2 separate regions of the Homo sapiens genome follow, and region 1 is linked to region 2. The links are contacts of gene promoters, found by promoter capture Hi-C in blood cells and fetal thymus (Javierre and others, 2016). All regions are on one chromosome and are shown on one strand. Each heading gives the region's core, a stretch centred on a gene start or on the middle of the fragment in contact. The rest is flanking DNA. Distances are from core to core; before and after follow the strand shown.

Region 1 (5,264 bases), core at 381-2,880, 290 kb before region 2:
ATTTACAAGTCAAGTTTTATGGGAACAATCATTTCCACTCATATATGTATTGTCTATGGCTGCTTTTTCTCTACAAGGGCAGAGTTAGGTATTTCCAAGAGAAAGCACATGGAATGCAAAGTCAAAATATTTACTATCTGGTCTTTCACAGAAAATGTTTGCTGTTTGCTCTGAGATTTATAGTAATATGATATTATGACAGGTCTACAAAGTATACATGATAGTAATCTGGGATTTATAATTTTATTTTTTAAGAATATATTGTCCACACATTGGAGAATATGTTATCTTTGATTATTAATCACATCCTACTTCCTTATTGCATAATGCTTATACCATAAAGAAATTTTCTTTTAAATATCTTTCATGTGTCCCTTTGCATCATCATCATCATCATCATAATGCAAACTAAAAAAAGAACACATTTTGAACATAACTCTAGATAAATTTAGTCAATGGCTTGAAATATGAATTAATGGTTCGATTCCACCGTGGATGAAAATATTGTGTGGTATCCCACAGTGTTTTATATGTATTATATTATTTTCAGCATTTTTATCAGGAATTTGGACTAAAACCAAAAGCATGTTTATCCAGTACGTGTATAATACAAAGCTGTGTAGCAGTAGTTACTATATTGGATGATAGAGACAGTATTCAAAAAGATTGAAAAATATTGGAAAGATGGGCCAAAACTAACAAAGTGAAATGTAACAGGGCTAATTATGAAGTTCTATATTTGGGTTAAAAAATCAAGCCACAAATGTACAAATGCAGGATGGGAGAACACATGATGAAACAGCAGTAAAAGATGACGGAGTTTTAGGGTTATAGTTAACTGAAAGCTTAATTGTGAACCAACCCTTTGATGTGGATATGAAAATCACTCATATAATCTTAGCATGTGCTTCAATATAATTATGCATTCTGTTCAGACCAAGGTGGCTAATTGCATTGCATACTGCATTGGTCAGAAGCCATCTGGAATGATGCATTCAGTTTCAGAAGCTATGTTGTAATAGAGATCTTGACAAATGTAGTGGATGTTTGACAGTTTTTTTTCCTACCATAGATATCAGATACCTGCTTTCTCAGACCCTTGGAGCTAGATGCAGGCATAAAGCTAGGGTCTAATCAGCAGCACCTGCAGTATGAGCCAGAGATGCAAAGTAGCAGAGAATACTTGGAATTCATTCTAGTGAGGATAAAATCAGGGCTATAGATCCAATTTCTCGAAGCACTGGAGTTAAGTCAAGCACTGAATGTTGTCGGCAGTGAAAGTCATTGTGTTTGTGGAGAAGTGATGTCTTCTAGATCAGTTCTGAGTGTAATTTTATACACTGTTTCTGGCTATATATAAGGCATTATAAGGGATGGTAATCCAGACGACCTCCAGGGGCTTTCTCAACTCTAAATTTCTCGATTTGCTGTTTTTAAATGGCTTACTCTTTACAGCCTGAGAAATGTATGGGAGTATACACAGAAAGGTTATAATGCCAAGAACAAAGAAAAAATTAATGAAAGTGGATTAGGGAAGGGAAGTGGCTACAGCCTGCCTCTGTTAAATGGCTGATATCAAGTCCTTATTCTATAAGAGAAAATAAATTCAGGTTCTTAAATAGCTTGCTAATAAAATATTTCATAGGAAAGACCATGTATTATAAGCAATAGAGAGACAGGATGATTCGGCATTAAAAAAACCAAGTATATAACGTAGAAGCAGTGGCGTTTATGCTATTTGTATCATAAAATGTAATATGCCTGATGAAATTCCCTATAGAATATAAGTGGAAAATGTGCTTGTTTGAATTTTTTTCCATTTTATTTGCGCTTAATATTTATATTTTATTACTCTGTTCTATTACCCATAGTGCATTACCTGGTATTCTTTCCCTATGCAATCAATGGTTTCTGAATGGCAGAGTGCATTATGAAGAGAACATGGGCTTTGGAGTCAGGCTAGGACTGAGTTCAAGTCCCAGGCCTTCGTAACTAAGTCTATGATTGTGACTTTTGGAAATTTACTCTAGCATCCTGGGCCTGTATTTTCTGATCTGTAAAATAACAAAGAATGTATCTCACAATGTTGTCCTGAAGTATACGTAAGTTGCAGCATAGAAATGTGCACTGGTAATATTAGATCTCACACCCAGCTTTATATTTTTTTGTTACTGTCTTCATTTTCTTTGCTTGCCCAAAGAAGATGAGAATCCAATAAACTTTGGATAAAATAATTTTTTTTTGAAAATTTGTGTTCCCATTCAGCTATCTCATCCCCAAAACCCATGCCATCCCCACCCTACCCCACCCCGAAAATGACTTCCCTACTTTGAGTAATTTCTGTGATAATATTCTATCTGGAATTGTACAGAAACCAGTTACTGATTTCTAAAATTATAGTTTTATAAAGCTTATCTCATAAAGGAAGGTGCAAGAGTCCATGGTTTTTGGATATAATAAATGTGTGAGGAATGAACAGAAAAGTGGTAAATATCATATTAAGTGCTTCATAACTCAACCATAAAAGTTCTTATTTCTAGGATTAGCACTAAAATAACAGAATCTGGTTTTTGAAAGGTTTGTATGAAAACAATTGTTGATAGGAGGGAAAAAATGTATTTAAGTAAGTATTGTGTTCCTTAGATTATCATAAGGCATGTTGTCACAGAATTAGATTGTCACTATTTAAAAGACTGGAAAATGATATTTCTAGAAATAAGATTAACATATATATTACTTAAATTTTGAAACTTCAAACCCTTCTAAGAGACATAAATGAGAAATAAAGCTATATTTCTTAACAGAAAAAATATTTTAAAGATATCACTGCTCTCTAAATTATTTCATAATCACAATATGATACTAAGTTTCAATTGTAACAAATATACTACACGAATGCAAAATGTTAATAATAGGAGAAACTGTGTTTTATTGTGACTATTGTTGTCAAGTTCATCTGGAAAATATCCTAAAAGAATCAGGAAAATATTAAAAACTAATGAGGGAGTCTAGCTGTACAAGTAGAAATATAAAAGGAACTTGAAATGATTCGTTATAAAAAATACAATAATTTAATAAATATGAAGGAACAATATGATTCATAATTATATAAACACAAATGAAAATTAAATAAAATATGCTTTCTCACCCATGGGAATGGCAAAAATAGATGTGGGAAAATTGATATTATCAATTGCTACAAAATTAGGAGGGTAATTTGGCAATATTTACTGACATTTAAAATGTGCATGCCTTTGGCCTAATAATTCTACAGATAGAAATTTTTGCTGTGGATACAACAACAAAAAACAAGGACAACACAAAAATTTTAGAATTCATCAATATTTGGCAAATACTACTCAATTTTTTAAAATAATGAGATATATATCTATGTGCCAATATAGATCTCCAAGCAATGTTATCAAAATAAATCACTATGAAAATTGTGTAAATAAAAGGAGTATAGGTATGCACATATATAAGTGCACATATAAATATGCACGTATGGCCAGGTGCAGTGGCTCACACCTGTAATCCTAGCACTTTGGGAGGCGGGGGCGGGTGGATCACGAGGTCAGGAGTTCGAGACCAGCCTGACCAACATGGTGAAACCCCGTCTTTACTAAAAATACAAAAATTAGCCAGGCATGGTGGTGCGTGCCTGTAATCCCAGCTACTCAGGAGGCTGAGGCTGGAGAATCACTTGAACCCAGGAGGAGGAGGTTGCAGTGAGCCAAGATCAGACCACTGCACTCCAGCCTGGGTGACAGAGCAAGACTCCATTTCTAAATAAATAAATAAATAAATATGCACATATATTTATGTTAGTAAACAGATAATGTTCTACAAGGAAGTATAAGAACATTGCAACAATAGGAAGTAGAGTTGTAAGTCTAAGGGGAACATACTTCAATTTAATTTCTTTTTATAATGAATGCATCTTTTATCCTGTGCATTTATTACTTTTTTATTAATATATTTTATTTTTAGGGAAATGTTAGGGCATAACCATCCATGAAATGCAATATCTTTCCATTTATTTAGGTCTTCTTTGAACCTCTTCGTTAGAGTTTTATAGTTCTCTTCATATAGGTTTTGCACATATTTTATTAGCTTTACACCAATTCAGGTTTTTTGGTGGCAATATTGGTGCTAAGATAATGTTAACATAAATGAAACAAATTCTAATTGTTAATTGCTGATATGTAAGAATGCAATTGACATGCATATTAATCTTGTATTCTAGTACTTTGCTATAATTACTTATTAGTTCTAGGAGGTTTTATGTCCACTCTTTGGGATTTTTTTTTTTTTTTTTTTTTTTTTTTTTGAGATGGAGTCTCGCTCTGTCACCCAGGCTGGAGTGCAATGGCACAATCTCAGCTCACTGTAACTTCCACCTCCCAGGTTCAAGCGATTCTCCTGCCTCAGCCTCCCGAGTAGCTGGGATTACAGGTACCTGCCATCATGCCTGGCTAATTTTTGTGTTTTTGTAGAGACGGGGTTTCACCATGTTGACCAGGCTGGTCTTGAATTCCTGATCTCAAGTGATCTGCCCGCCTCAGCTTCCCAAAGTGCTGGGATTACAGGTGTAAGCCACCGCACCCGGCCAGGATTTTTTTTTATATGGACCATGTATTAAGGTTCTCCAAAGGGACAGAGTGAATAGAATATTTGTATATATAAAAGTGAGTTTATTAGGGAGAACTGGCTCACATGATTCCACCGCGAAGTCCCATGATAGGCTGTCTGCAAGCAGGGGAAAGGAGAAACCATAGTGGCTCAGTCCAACCACAAAAACCTCAAACCAAGGAAGGTGACAGTACAACCTTTGGTCCTGAGAGCTCCCAGGAAGCTGCTGGTCAAGTACCAGAGTCCAAAAGCTGAAGAACCTGGAGTCTGATGTCCAAGAGCAGGAGGAGCAGAACCAAGCGTCTAGCATGGGAAGAAGAAAAAAGAAAGCCAGAAGAGTAGCCAAGCAAACTTAACCCACCTTCTTCCTCCTGCGTTGTTTTAGCAGGAGCTGATTTGATCCGGCAGCTGATTGAATGGTGCCCACCAATTGAGGGTGGATCTTCCTCCCCCAGTCCACGGACTCTCCTCTTGCAACACTCCCACAAACATACGCAGAAACAATACTTTACCAGCCATCCAGGCATCCCTCAATCCAACCAAGTTGACACCTAATATTAACCACCATAGACAGTTTTATCACCTGTAAACAAGGAGTTTTATTTATTCTGTCTCAAATTGTATACATTTTG
Region 2 (4,783 bases), core at 1,964-4,463:
GTACTTTATAAATTTACTGCTTTTGCCATATATATTTACTGTGGAACCAAATACCCACAAAAGTCTTCTAAAAATAAAATGACCATTTCACAATAAGCAGAGAAAAAGAATTTCAGTTATTCCTATAATTAATTATAATTATAAATGAAATAACTGTAACTGTTAATTTATATAACTAATTATAATTATAAATAAAAACACTCATAACTTAGATTTTAACATTTTTTGCTTTAATTATATTAGCATGATTATAACCTTGTAAGATAAACAGAAATTAAGGTGGTATAAACAGAAGTGTTTATCCTGGGATTTTTATGATGAAATAAAAAAGAAAATATTTTAAAATAATTGCTGTAGGTGTACCTATTAGGACATTTAAAAAATTCCTAATACTTTAATACAAGTATTTCAACCCAGTTCTAGGCACTGGTTCCATTACTTTTGCTACAGTTCCTTTTGTGATATGATTATTGAAATCTCCATTCTCTGCCAGCTGCAGTGGCTCAGGCCAGTAATCTCAGCACTTTGGGAGGTCAAGGTGAGAGGACTGGTTGAGGCCTGAGCAAAATAGTTAGACCTCCTCTCTAAAGAACAAAACCTTTAGCTTGATGAGGTGGCCAGTGCCTGCAGTCCTAGGTACTCGGGAGGCTGAGGCAGGAGAGTTGCTTGGGCCCAGGAGTTTGAGGCACAGTAAGCTATGATTGTAGCACTGCGCTCCAGCCTCGATGACTGAGTGAGGCTCTGTTGAAAGAGAGAAGGAGGAAAGAAAAAGAAAGAAAGAAAGAAAGAGAGAAAGAAGAAAGAAAGAAAGAAAGAGAAAGAAAGAAGAAAGAAAGAAAAAGAAAGAAAGAAAGAAAGAAAGAAAGAAAGAAAGAAAGAAAGAAAGAAAGAAAGAAAGAAAGAAAGAAAAAGGAGTAAGGGGGAGGGAGGGAGAGAGGAAGGAAGGAAAGAAAGAAGGAAGGAAGGAAGGAAGGAAGGCAAGCAAGAAAGGTACATTGCCTTGGCTAAAATCATAAAGGAGTTCAGTCCAATGAAACTATCTCTTTAGTCTCATGAAGGCTTCTGACCCCCATTTTATGAAATTTTAAATTTAAATATCAACCATGTTTTCCTTCATTGTTTTCCAGTGTATTATATTGCGAAACTAGATTCTCAATTGACTGAGGTGTTTAATCCACTTGCAAATAGATTGTAAATGAATACAAAATAAGTCACTGAGAAGCATTTAACATAATTTAAAAATCAACAAGAAATTTGTCCAAATATTTAATAACATATTAATTTAAACGAGGGTTAGCAAGCATGTTACTACTTTTTTGAAACAAAAATCAGTTCTCCCATTTACTAGCTTCATAGCCACTGTTGACAATCCTATTATTTATTTTTCAGCCTTCCCTTTGAAAGATGCTTAGCAAAAATCAACTAAGTAACAACCAAAGATCTCATTCTCTTTAACATCTTCCAGGATCACAAATTTCAATTATTCTCTGCCTGAGTTATCACAATTCAAACTGGAGAATGAAGAGTAAACACAAGCAAAAGAAGATAAAATCTATTAAAAGATCGAGAGACACCAGACACAAATGGGTTAAAAGAAGAAGAAGAATTAAAGGTTATACTGTTTTGATTACACACATAGAGGCTAGGAAGAAGAAAATGAATTGAGATTACCTGTTAGAAATAGGCGGTTTCTGGTTTCTGGGAGCTGTCCAATGTACTGAGTGAACCATCATAACCACAACTTACCCCCTTAATAGGGACTGACGTCCTGGGCAGTTCTCTTTTGAACCGGGATGTTTCTACATTCATCTTTTTAGGCTATTTCTTCCAATCTACCTTTAAAATTATCTTCTAATCTGTCACTTTGACACAATGGGTCTTTTAAATAAATCTTTACACAGTACTGAATAATTAAGTAAATATAGTTATTGGCAAACAAAGAAAAAGAACCTTTTTGTTAAAATATTTGGGATACTCGAGATAATATAAAATGAGTAATCTCTTATTTTTCTTATGCCAAATTTAAAATCTCTTTCTTTTCTCAAAAATAACGATCTAACGATAGCCAAAAACTCCCTTAAATATATTTCAATAAATCATTGTTTCTGCACTTAAGTCTTACTGTAGGACAATACAAATCAATGAGGAAAATACGCCAGATGGAAGTGTTAGGTTTTTTTCTTTGTTCGGGAACAAATACTCGATCCGCAATTTAAAAGTCCGAAGACTCCTCAGCAGAGGGTGAGCTGATTGACTCTTTGGCTTATCAAGGGCAAATCGCATTTCTGAAAAGAGCTTGAAGTGGTTTTGTTTGTGAGGAGAGTTTGCTTTGTCCCCCACACTGAAAAGTATACAGCAAAGCCCGAGCATAGAAAATATCCTGAGCTTAAATTTCTCATTTTATTGCCATCATAACTTTTCCTCTTGGAATAAAATCCTCTATTTTATATGAGTAGGAGGTAAAGGTAGGGAAAGGAAAGTCAAGTATCTCAATTGTTACGCTGATTGCATCCAAACAGACTTTAGAAGTCAGGGTTTGTAACGTGGCAGGAGAGCTGTTTGCGATGCCCTGGAAAGAAAAGAAAGCCGGTTCCAACAGCGACTCTGGGGAATGCACTCTCGGTCCCCCTGCCATGCTTACTTAAGCTAATTGAAGGTCTTGCCTTTCAGCAGCCGCTGCACTGGGATACCAGACAAACAGCTCCCCTTGATGCCAGGCAGGCAGGGCCCCTCTTCAGGACATCATTAAAAGCACATGCACTTGCTCCACATCCATTGGCAGATGGTGGCAAGATTCAAGACTCCTACCCTGAAGTCAAGGAGAAGCCATCGCGGTGGAAAACATCCTCGCTTTGAAAATCCAACACGAAATTAAAGAACTACACGAGATAAGGAGCCTGGAGAACATTAGTTGGCTGCAGGGGTGAAGACAGACACAAAAAGCACAGCAGGTAAGAGCTGGGGGTTGTTGCCAACAAGGAACTGTCCCGGGTGGCGCAGAGAAAAGGATCTCAGAACTGGAGCCCTGTCCCTTTGAGTCTTCCATGCGTGCTCAAGCTTGTCATCTTCCATAAGCTTCGAGAGAAGGGACGTTGTCAGAGCATTCCTTATCGGTGCGACTAATCCTGTTATCAGCTTGGTTATAAATATTTAATGTTCCCTGGCCTTTCGGTGATGGTGCCCCATCAGATTCAAGGCTGTTAAGAATCCCCACCAGCAACCTCGCCCCTCCCTGCGGAAAACCGATGAGAGGCAGGGCCAAGCCGAAGCGATGGCGGCCTATCCGGAGAGCTGCGTGGACACTACGGTGCTGGACTTCGTCGCAGACCTGTCCCTGGCCTCCCCGAGACGCCCTCTCCTCTGCGACTTCGCACCCGGGGTCTCCTTGGGGGACCCAGCCCTTGCGCTCCGAGAGGGAAGACCCAGGAGGATGGCGCGGTTTGAAGAGGGGGACCCAGAAGAAGAGGAGTGCGAAGTGGACCAGGGGGACGGAGAAGAGGAGGAGGAAGAGGAGCGCGGAAGAGGTGTCTCCCTATTAGGCCGCCCCAAGAGGAAAAGGGTGATCACCTACGCCCAGCGCCAGGCCGCCAACATCCGCGAAAGGAAGCGGATGTTCAACCTCAACGAGGCCTTTGACCAGCTGCGGAGGAAGGTGCCCACGTTTGCTTACGAGAAAAGGCTGTCCCGGATCGAGACCCTCCGCCTGGCCATCGTCTATATCTCCTTCATGACCGAGCTCTTGGAGAGCTGTGAGAAGAAGGAAAGCGGCTGAGCCTGGTGTGGAGAGTCTGCCCTTCCTCGTCTGGTAGTGCTGGGGTGTGTCAGGACCGGGCACTGGGTGAGGCTAAAGGGCCGGGAGGGAGGCCCCAAGACAGAACGTCTGGTCTTCTGGAGGTCGGGGTCGAGATTGTAAGATCCCCACATGCGCTGAGCAGAGTGGCTGCTGTAGAGTTCATATCTACGCGACCGCCCTAAGTGAAGTCGGGGTCAGGGGCGAGCGGGGAAGTCAGAGAGCGTGAGGCTGAGTCGGGGCCGTTCAGGCTGCTCCTAAGAGCTTCCGTGGGCTGGGTGGGTGGGAAGTGAACCCTCCTCGCAAATGGCAGACTTTGGAGCTTCTATAAAATCTAACCTCTCTTCTTTACATTTTTTTTTTCATAGAGATAATAAAGTAGAAATTCTTACGTTTTTAAAAAGCCTGAAGGGTCGGTGGTACGCCATCCCCAGCAGGCGCTCCAGCGGGCGCCTGCGTGGAGGGTCTGAAGCAGACGCCGCAAGGGTGCGGGGGTGCGAGCTTTTCTGCTAGCCAGAGGGTTCTGCCTGGTCCTCCGAGGCTTGTCCAGGAACTGAGGAAAGGAAAAATGGAAGGCAGAGCAGTCGAGAGGAACTGCTGACAAAGTGCGACCTCTGAGAAGGGACACCCTTCCTGTCTTCCATTCCCTCTCCCTCCCGTCCCTTCCTCTCTCCCGCGCGCAAGCCCTCTCTCTTCCTTTCTCCCTCCCCTTCGCCACCTAGTTGATCCCAGACGGACCACAGCTCCTTGTCCCAGGGCCACAGTGGTGTTCATTCAGTGCCTTAGCCAGAGTGCAAATCTACGCTTTGCATCTAAAGTGCAGCATCAGCTTCCGTGTTCCAGTGCCTTCTTCAGGCCCCAGGCCAGAGTAAGGGGCGAGTGCACTCGGGTCACTCCTGGGCCGCAGGGGGCCTTGGGCGCCCTGCAGCTTCGCCACCAGCCACCGCTACCAACTGTCCCCGGCCAGGGGTTGGGGTATGAAGGGGCCTGGAT

The links. The method cuts DNA at HindIII sites, captures the fragments that hold promoters and counts their contacts. A CHiCAGO score of 5 or more calls a contact.
Region 1: a fragment that was not itself captured here is called in contact with the fragment with the promoter of FERD3L in region 2 in 3 of 17 cell types (M0 macrophages, M1 macrophages and megakaryocytes); the score reaches 6.3 in M0 macrophages.

What each region holds. Positions count from the first base shown.
Region 1 is chr7:19,433,322-19,438,585 of GRCh38, reverse strand. No RefSeq gene overlaps it. Among named protein-coding and RNA genes, the nearest start is that of MIR3146, 270 kb to the left of the region's middle. The HindIII fragment of the contact is 1,565 bases long and covers 848-2,412 here.
Region 2 is chr7:19,143,851-19,148,633 of GRCh38, reverse strand. It overlaps FERD3L (Fer3 like bHLH transcription factor), which reads left to right and starts at 3,213. Exons shown (of 1, transcript NM_152898.2): 1 at 3,213-3,852. The coding sequence starts at 3,272. The coding sequence ends at 3,772. RefSeq lists enhancers at 2,167-2,815, 3,281-4,480. The HindIII fragment of the contact is 4,985 bases long and covers 3,078-4,783 here.